3 separate regions of the Homo sapiens genome follow, and regions 1 and 2 are each linked to region 3. The links are contacts of gene promoters, found by promoter capture Hi-C in human tissues and cell types (Jung and others, 2019). All regions are on one chromosome and are shown on one strand. The core of a region is centred on a gene start or on the middle of the fragment in contact, and the rest is flanking DNA. Distances in the headings are between cores, read along the strand shown.

Region 1 (3,059 bases), core at 271-2,770, 290 kb before region 3:
TGTATTTTAGCCACCTTGCCTTTTTAAAAGCTTTTAATAGGAGCAGAATATAACATTTTCTAGAGAAGTAATTGCTTTTAGCTCTAAATTCTTTGGAGAATTTTGACTGGCAAGTGGCATGAGGGGATGACAGGTTCTTTGTCCACTGAGCACACTGTGTGAAGGGGACCATTTTTTAAAAAAATTATTTTATTTAAGAGCGGAGTCTCACTCTGCCACCCAAGCTAGAGTGCTGTGGCACGATTTCAGCCCACTGCAAGCTCCGCCTCCCCAGTTCAAGCGATTCTCCTGCCTCAGCCTCCCGAGTAGCTGGGATTACAGGCATGGGGCACCATGCCTGGCTAATTTTTGTATTTTTAGTAGAGATGGGATTTCACTGTGTTGGCCAGGCTGGTCTCGAACTCCTGATCTCAGGTGATCCACCTGCTTCAGCCTCCCAAAGTGCTGAGATTACTGGCTTGAGCCACCGCACCGGGCCAAGGGCACCATATTAAGTAAGGTCCTTGCCCCACAGTAGTTAAGGGTCTAGTTGAAGGGACAAGATTATGGGGTCAAAGCCCAAGAGAAAAGAGACCTGCCTCGGCTCCTGGTCCCAATCCAAACAGGCATAGAGGCAAACCCAGGAGCATCTCTGTGCATGGCAGAATGAGCTTAAGGACCTCCCAGTTCCCTTCTAGTCACAATTAAGTGACTAGACATCAAATTGAACAGCCTGGTTGTGACCAATAAAACTGCAGTGGTTAACAGTAACCGGGGAGGGGTGGTGCTTTCTCTAATTGCTTTCACTTTGTTTTATTTCGACTCTATGTGCACCCAGTGTATGTTTCTCCAGGAAGCTAAGGCATAGTTAGCTACATGGTCCATGGGGAACTCAGAAGTTTTCTCTATTAATCCATATGGACCTCAAAAACTAGTGACCCAAAGGCCAAGTCCAGCCAACAGACATATTCTGATGCTCTGCACAGAGCTTTGAAATGTCTGTAAATTATCATCAACATTTAAAAATAAAGAAATTACATAATGTTTTAAAAATCAGATTTCCAGCTTCTTTTGAAAAACTTGAATATCAGGTAACTCTGGGACCATGCCCCATGGGCAATAGTTGCTTGGAGTTGAGTGGCAGTGTCTGTTTGAAACAAGCCATGCATTCAAGAATTTGCCACAGAGCCTTCTAAACACACCAGGACTCCACAGGCTTCCGAGCTTGTGGCCTCTGACCTATCAGTAATCTACATAAGGATATAAATTAGGCAGTCCAGGATTTTATTAAGCACTTATTGTGTCAGGCAAAACATTTTTCACAGCAGCCTTTTCCACTGAAAACTGGTTAATTGGGAAAGTACATGTTGTTCCATTTTACAGATGAGAAAACAGAAACTTAGTTCAAGTAACTTGCCCTGTAAAGAGTGTGGGGGGGTCTCCTAACTCCTAGTCCTGGACACATGACACAGGGCTAAACAGCAGGACGCTGCTGGCTCCAGGACGGAATATCTCTTTGTGCACTGAAAATGTTCCTCAGGCAAACAATGCTCCTTAATTCCTGTCTGCTGATGGTGTCAGGAAGATGCATGTGCTTTTTACTTTTTATTTCAAAATAATTCTAGATTTAGAGAAAGTTACAAAGATAGTACAGAGTGTTCCCATATACCTGTCACCTAGCTTTCTCTAATATTAACATCTTACGTAGCCATGGTACATTTATCAAAACAATAAAATTAGCATTGGTACAATAAAATTTACTGCAGAATTTATCAGATTCAGTCTTCCACTACTTATTGTCTGTTTTTCCTGTTCCAGGATTCAATCCAGGATGCCACGTTGCATTTATTGGTGTATATATCTATCAATCATATCTCCTTATTCTCCTCCAATCTGTGACCGTTTCTCAGTCTTTATCTTTCATGACCTTGACACTTCTAAATGAACAGTGTTCACATATTTTGTAAAATATTCCAGAATTTGAGCTAGTCTTCAGTTTTCTCATGAATAGACAGCATTCTGGTGTTGGGAGAAGTGCATCATAGAGTCAGCGTGTCACATCATGTCACATCAAGGGACACATGATATCCACAATACTTATTAGTAGCGCTGAGAGCCTTAACCACACTTATTTAAGGGGGTATTTGTTTCTCCACTGTAAAGTGACTACTTTCCCCTCGGTCACCAAGTCATCCCAGACTGAAGGGGAGGGGGACTTAACTCCACCTTCTAGAGAGAGGGGAGTATCAGACAATTTGTGATCGTATGTTAAAACCACCACAGTAATTATTAAATTTTTAGAGACATATCTTTGATGTCATGCAAGCATTGTGTTCCTCCTTAAAATGTCATCCACTCATTTTTACCACTGATCAATGGATTCTGCCTGCAATAATTATTACTGTGGTGTTCTCATGGTGATTTTCTCTTTTCCTCATTCTTTCTACACTTATTCACTGGAATTCTTCTGAAAGTAATAGTTGTTTTTTCTCCTCCATTTGTTTATTTCAATAATTTCTATCAATTTGAATTCATTCTTTGGGTTGTAACTAACATCATGTTGTTTATTTTGTTGTGCATATTGTTCCCTCTTTGGATATTGAGAACTCTCCAGTTGACTAATTCTGCAATGCCCTTCACCTATTTTTTTAAGCCTCTGTTACTTTGTGACACTACAAAATGTGTTCAGGGTTTATTTACAGAGATTGGGGCTCTGCATAAGAAGTTGTGAGGGGGAGGGCAATAAATGGAAGAGAAACAAAGTAAATAGCAATTTTTCTCTTGAAAGGAGATAAAAGTAGTGCTTACTTTTTAACATTCATTTGGCAGTAATTTCAAAATTACAGAAAAAATAATTCAAAGAATTCCTCTATAGCATCAGCCAGATGCACCTATCATCACCATTTACCTTGCTTATCATTTGCCTTGTCAATCTATATCTTTTCTAAATCACATGAGAGAAGTTGACGCATCATAATCTTTCCCCTCTAAATGCTTCAGTGGCTACCTCCCAAGAACACAGTCATCTTCTTACATAATTACAGCACACTCATCAACTTTGGGAACTCCATAACACTGAT
Region 2 (3,411 bases), core at 872-3,371, 310 kb before region 3:
TTTTAGGTTGTGAACTTCAGTCGTAAAAAAATAATAAAAATTGTTATTTTCCAGGCTTCTGTTTATGATGAATTTGTCATTTATAGAAGACCCACTGGGAAACTGTAAGAGATATTTTATTTAGATTTTTGTGGAGGTATTACATATTCTTAAAATATTTTGGTCCTCAGTCATTTTCAGGCTCAATAATTTTTTTAAAGCCAGCAAGAAAAGAAATGCAAAGATGCTGAAGGAAAAATCAGCAATACTATGGCCCAAAAGCTCCAGCAGAAATCCCCCATCTGGGCCTCAGATATGGTCATTGATATGGATGGGAGCTGGGGCTGGAAAGTCACCCCCTTCCAAGGCCTGGGGGCTGGACACTGTCCCTCGTATAGGAAGGGTCCCAGTGCAGCCTGGGGAAGCTGTTCCATGAAAGACAGTCAGTCTCATCCAAGCTCAGGATCTGAAAGGTTTATGGGTTTAAAAATAAAAATGAGAAACTGAACAGACAATATTATGTCATTATTTTCAAACGGATATAAACTATAAAGAAGAGAATATTGCCTAGAGGCATTTAGGGGAAAAAGAGGAGTTTTTATTTCATGGGAGAAACATTTGTTCCCAAATGGGTTTTTTTTCCTGTGGGCCAGGCTAATATTGTGATTAAATTGTAATTTTCTTAAAAAACAGGCAAAACGGCCGGGCGCAGTGGCTCCCGCCTGTAATCCCAGCACTTTGGGAGGCTGAGGCGGGTGGATCACGAGGTCAGGAGATCGATACCATCCTGACTAACAAGGTGAAACCCCGTCTCTACTAAAAATACAAAAATTAGCCGGGCGTCGTGGCGGGCGCCTGTAGTCCCAGCTACTCGGGAGGCTGAGGCCGGAGAATGGCGTGAACCCGGGAGGTAGGGCGTGCAGTGAGCTGAGATCGCGCCACTGCACTCCAGCCTGGGTGACAGAGCAAGACTCCATATCAGGAAAACAAAAAACAAAACAAAACAAAAACAGGCAAAACAATCATAATAGCAGATTCCTGTTTGGTTGTAATACACTTTCAAATAAGAGATACTTTCTTGGCATCTGTTACATGTCACAGCCCCTGGCAATGCTATTTTTCCAATGAAACTAGCCCTTTAAAACATTTGCATTAGGCTGGGCACGGTTGCTCACGCCTGTAATCCCAGCACTTTGGGAGGCTGAGGAGGGCAGATCACAATATCAAAAGATTGAGACCATCTTGGCCAACATGGTGAAACCCCCTCTCTACTAAAAATATAAAAAATTAGCTGGGCGTGGTGGTGGGTGCCTGTAGGCCCAGCTACTTGGGAGGCTGAGGCAGGAGAATCGCTGGAACCCGGGAGGAGGCAGAGGCTGCAGTGAGCCGAGATCGCGCCACTGCACTACAGCCTGACAGAGCGAGACTCTGTCTCAAAAAAATAAAACAAAAAAACACTTGCATTAAACATTTTGTTAAACCATGATTTTTGGAGTTGAAATCACACAGAAGGAAGAAAAGAAGGAAGGGAGGGAGAGGAAGGAAGGAAGGAGGAAGGGAGGGAGGAAGGGAGGTCTCTGACTATAAGCTTTAAAATTCTTCCTACAGGGTTTATTAAGGCTTACATTGTGACCAGCCAGTTTCCCTGGTAGTTTATCTTTTAAGCTCTAAATAAACAAATGAGATTTAACTGAGCATCACTATTAACACTATCAGGCTCCAAGACCATAAGATTGTAGCCTCTAAGATCTCGTGGCAATTTAGAGATGATGGCCAGGAGGCAGCCAGGAGCTGGGCACGGCTATTCTTGGTCACAGCATCACTGACTGGGTCCTCGAAGATGCCAGCAGGAGCGGGCCCTGTGTCCTTGGGCAGTTTCTAGTCTGCCCAGCCCACATCACCAGCCAGGACCATGAGCAACGTATGTCCGGGAGATGAGAGAGGGAGGTCGTGAGCCTTTCTGGAGTAGGACACAGAGATGTGTTGGTCCCAGAACTAATGTCTGTGTCCTCAGGAGCTGTGGGGTCTGTGTGCATGGAGGCTGAAGCCACAGGGATGGTGACTCTAGAGGTGTGTGTAGTTCCCTGCACCATTTCCAGGCTGGCTGCATAGCACCTGTGCTCCAAGGAACTCCCTGGGATTGTCTATCATTATCTGACAAACTCATGCCATGGCCATTATTTTATTATTTGCCCATTCAACCAACATATACAGAGCACCTGCTAAGTAGTCAATAAAACAAAGTCCTTACCCATGTGGAGCCTTCACTAGTGAATGCATTCATTTTATTTTTGAAGTCATTACCATCATGATTATTACTGACACTCCCTAACCTGAGGATGCTGGTGTAAATTCTACACCTGAGTGAGGCGCTTGTGTGTCACTCACTGTGAAGTCAGAGGACCAGGAGCTCACGCACCCCTCCTAAGCAGGGCCAAGCCTCCACAGACAGCGGCTGTTGCCTCCATACCCACGTTACTTCCCGTTTCCCGTCTGTAAACCAGAGAGAAGGTGCTGGTCAGGGAGGCGCACAAGTTTCCCTCTGGTTTGGGGGGTAGAGTTTTCCGACAGGGCTGTAGTGAGAGAGAAGCTCGGGCTACACATCCAGCTTCTGTGGTCCAGCGTACTCCAGGGCAGGATGACCGCAGAGGATCATTTGGTACTGTCTTCCGTGAAGCTAGGGGAAATGTGTCACACTTCAGGCACAAACCCCAAATGTGAAGAGCCAGCGTAGAATTCATGAGGATTCAAAACACGAGGATCAGCCTTGGCCAATACACCCGTGATAGAAGTTCATTAATTCCTCCCCTTTGTGAGGCAGCCCTGGAGAAGGCAGACCCCTCACAGTGCTGAGTAAGCCAGCCAGAGAGGAGTACAGATTCACAGCATCAGAAGCAAGGTTGGGACTTCCCTATTCCGGCTTTGGTAAGAGCTGAGAACCAACAGGTGGCCCCCCCTGGCTGAGATGAGGCCTTTCTGCCAGGCGGCTGGTCAGCAGGACCACTCCTGCCCACCGCCCTTTCATCTTGGGTAGGACCAGCAGTGCTGGCCCTTGGGAGAGAAGGCGGGACCTTTAAATAGAGCATGTTGCAAAATACTCCGTCCCCTGCTCCTATAGACATTACCCAAAGCTTCTCCTACTGGGGTGGTCCATGGGGTTGCAGCCTGCTGAACCTGTGATTCACTAGCTCCTGAGGCTGTACTGCCCTCAAATACAGCAAAGTCGGAGCACAACAAAGCTCCGCACAGCGGAGAAGGCATTCTCTGTAGCCCGTTATTCCCCCACAGCAAGCAGCAGCCCGAGTTCAGGCATAGGAGAGATCGCGCTTTTGCACTAAGAAATGTGTGAACAAACCCCAAGGCTTCCAGCCCTCAGCAAGATCCAGGACTGGGATTGATGGGCCCCAAAAGACCTGAAATCAGCAACCCTGC
Region 3 (3,338 bases), core at 768-3,267:
TTTTTTTTTTTTAAAAAAAGGGTTTCCTTCACATCATTAAAAACAATCTTAAATTTTTGCATGTTTACACATTCACATATTTACAAATATGCCATTACATTAGATGTGCACTTTTTAACCGCTATTTTACTAAACAATGTATTATAAACATGTTTTCATTTCTATTAACCCATATTTTCTTTCTAATTGTTAATGCCTGCATAATCCTCTATTGTTAGATGTACCATAATTTATTTAACGATTGCCTCTCGGTGGGCATTTAGGTCGTTAACTTTTTTTATTTTTATTTTATTTATTTATTTATTTTTTGCTATAGTAACCAACTCCAGGATGAAATCTTCACACATAGTGATCATTTTTTTAGGAGAGATTCCTGGAAGAGCACAGAGGGGTCAAGCGGTGAGAGCACTTTAAAAGGCCACTCCTGGTAAAGACAGCAGCCTCCAGGTTGAAAGTCACTGTTGATAGGTTCTGAGAGCTGCGCTGAGTGCATTACCAACATTGTTATATTTATTCCTTACCACCACCCCTTCATGGTGCCTAACCGCCCCTGCTCTGTGTGGCTGATTGTAAGGTAAGGCCTGGCGTGGACCAGGCAGATGGCCCTCCTCTGACCACCACATAAAGTGGCCTCAGAAGAGGCTCCTTTCTGGGGATAAGAAGACTGCAAACTGGGAAGGAACTGGGCTTGAAAAGCAAAATGAACCCCACCCAAGAACGGTGTAGCTGGTCTTCCCAGGCTGCAAGAGGCTTTCTCCATCTCCAGGAGTTCAGCAAAGAAAAAACAATAGAGCACAAGACACATGAGGGGTGGCCAGTAAAGGCAGGAAAAGTCTCCTATAAAACCTGCTCAGCGAGTCCCTCCCTCCATCCAGTGCATTTACCCAGCAACACATCAAATCCCAGCAGCCAAGACTCTCTTAGGTTTCTCGTCTGGGTGCCCTGCCAGAACTCAGGCAGGATGGTGTGCACAGAGCCTGGCCCAGAGAAGGCGCAACGGCGGCATGAATAACTGACTACAAGAAACTGCATCTTTCCAACATGCATTCCCCAGTAAGCCACAGGTACACTGACCCTTGTGCACCAAGACTTCATCAAAGCATTATTCGTATTAACCAAAGGATGGAAAATAAGTGGTTAAATAACTGCAACTAAACCCTGTGGAAAGGCCACTCTGTATGAACTCCAAAATATATCACCATATCTCATCACAACAAAGTCACTGTGGACGGAGATGTACCATGACTTTATGCAGCATTAAGAAACACACTCACAGAGCCAATGAACTATGCTCCCATTGATTGTATAAGAAACCCAGTTTCACAGATGACAAGAGGTGGGGAAACTGTGAAACACTGTAAGTGCAAAAACCAAGTGCAGACTAATGTGTATGGCACGCTACTCTGTGTGTGTGAGAGAGAAACAGAGTGTGTGTGTTTTAAAGGAAGGGGCTTTTTTAGGCACATGTACTTTTATAGGCATAGAGAAAATTTCTGAAAAGATATACAAAAACCCGATAGCAAGAGTGGCCTCTGGAAGCCGAGTTGGAGGATGGGGATACAAGGTGGTAGGGTAACCCTCTTTTCATCCTTAGATGTATATGTAAAATCTACATTTTAAACCATATATTCTCTTTATAAAATAAAACTTTGAAAACTACTGAATGCAAAATAAAATTAAATAAAATAGCGCATCCTTCTGGGAGGATTTACGGGCATACTATCTGGAGCCAGCCTTGGATCCGGAGACCGTACGGTTATCCAATCCTGACTCTGCCATAGCGACCTCGGGCAAGTTGTCGCCCCGACTGGGTCTCGGTTCCCTCAAGAGTCCAATCGGAGGTCGGAGAGCTGCTCTCGGGGCGACCCTCCAGCTCGGAGACCCGGGCCGCGGGCACCGCGCGGGTCCCGGGCTGGAGCAGCGGTCTGCGGGCGCCCCGCGGTGCAGGCCCGGCCAATCAGCGGCCGCGGGGCGGGAGCGGTGACTGCTCGGCGGGCGCGGAGCGGAGCGCGAAGCAGAGGCGCCGCCGCTGTCCCGGAGCAAGCCATGCCGCGCTTGTCTCTGCTCTTGCCGCTGCTGCTTCTGCTGCTGCTGCCGCTGCTGCCGCCGCTGTCCCCGAGCCTTGGGATCCGCGACGTGGGCGGCCGGCGCCCCAAGTGTGGTCCGTGCCGGCCAGAGGGCTGCCCGGCGCCTGCGCCCTGCCCGGCGCCCGGGATCTCGGCGCTCGACGAGTGCGGCTGCTGCGCCCGCTGCCTGGGAGCCGAGGGCGCGAGCTGCGGGGGCCGCGCCGGCGGGCGCTGTGGCCCCGGCCTGGTATGCGCGAGCCAGGCCGCTGGGGCAGCGCCCGAGGGCACCGGGCTCTGCGTGTGCGCGCAGCGCGGCACCGTCTGCGGCTCCGACGGTCGCTCGTACCCCAGCGTCTGCGCGCTGCGCCTGCGCGCTCGGCACACGCCCCGCGCGCACCCCGGTCACCTGCACAAGGCGCGCGACGGCCCTTGCGAGTTCGGTGAGTCAGGGTCGGGGATTGGGTGGGTAGAGAAGGAGGGATTCCAACCCTCTGGGGTGTGGAGCGAAGGATCCCCCTGCCCAGTGGTGGACGGCGCTGCCTGGCACTCAGTTTCCCCTTAGGGAGCAGTATTTCATATCTCTCCTCGTGCTCAGAGAGACTGGGGCGAGAATCCTTGGAGACGCCACTCACTGTGCTAGTCGAATTTTTGGTGAGCCTGCTACCCCTTTTGGTACTTAAGTACCTGCTGATGCAGTCACTTATTTGTAGGCATGGTATGTTTGCCCAGCAGGAGACTGGGAGTTAAGGAGGGGGATCCGAGTTCCCAGGTATCCAGCGCTAGGTGGATTGTTTGAATGGGGAGGAAGGGAAGTTGAGGTTGGGGGAGGAAGGGAAGTAGAGGATAGGGGAGGAAGGGAAGTTGAGGATGCAGGAGGAGGATGAGTTCCAGACTGGGGAATCAGTAGTCACCAGGCCACAGCACCAGAGCACCAGGGCCCCCGGTGTGGGAAGGGGCTGAGCTGGGATGCTGAGGGAGCTCCATCCAGGAGAAGTAAGACCTTTGGAGACGTAAGGTCTGAAAAGATTGTGGTGCTATTAGGGGCAGACTCAGGTTTCGTGCTTCTAAAACATATATAATTTGGAGAGTCCTGCCTTAAGTAAAGGAATAGAACTGCTAGGGACTTAGAAACTTATTATGAAATGCTAGGGACTTAGAAACTTAAGCTTCATTAACATCACAGTAAAATAATCTCTGAGTGCTATAGTTGCCCACCCTCTTTATGTACCTTTTGAAAACCAAACAAAAAGAAACCAAAACGTTAGCACTGCT

The links. The method cuts DNA at HindIII sites, captures the fragments that hold promoters and counts their contacts. A contact is called where the count stands out against the background at its distance.
Region 1: a fragment that was not itself captured here is called in contact with the fragment with the promoter of IGFBPL1 in region 3 in 1 of the 25 tissues and cell types used here (mesendoderm cells).
Region 2: a fragment that was not itself captured here is called in contact with the fragment with the promoter of IGFBPL1 in region 3 in 1 of the 25 tissues and cell types used here (dorsolateral prefrontal cortex).

Annotation. Positions count from the first base shown.
Region 1 is chr9:38,713,609-38,716,667 of GRCh38, reverse strand. All of the region lies in intron 1 of FAM240B (family with sequence similarity 240 member B), which reads left to right. Among named protein-coding and RNA genes, the nearest start is that of FAM240B, 5.0 kb to the left of the region's middle. The HindIII fragment of the contact is 5,800 bases long and covers 1-3,059 here.
Region 2 is chr9:38,733,168-38,736,578 of GRCh38, reverse strand. No RefSeq gene overlaps it. Among named protein-coding and RNA genes, the nearest start is that of FAM240B, 15 kb to the right of the region's middle. RefSeq lists an enhancer at 3,064-3,411. The HindIII fragment of the contact is 3,561 bases long and covers 341-3,411 here.
Region 3 is chr9:38,423,133-38,426,470 of GRCh38, reverse strand. IGFBPL1 (insulin like growth factor binding protein like 1) reads left to right here and starts at 2,017. Exons shown (of 5, transcript NM_001007563.3): 1 at 2,017-2,506. The coding sequence starts at 2,047. It overlaps LOC105376041 (a long non-coding RNA gene), which reads right to left and starts at 1,860. Exons shown (of 8, transcript XR_007061487.1): 1 at 1,721-1,860. RefSeq lists an enhancer at 1-972. The HindIII fragment of the contact is 5,843 bases long and covers 1-3,338 here.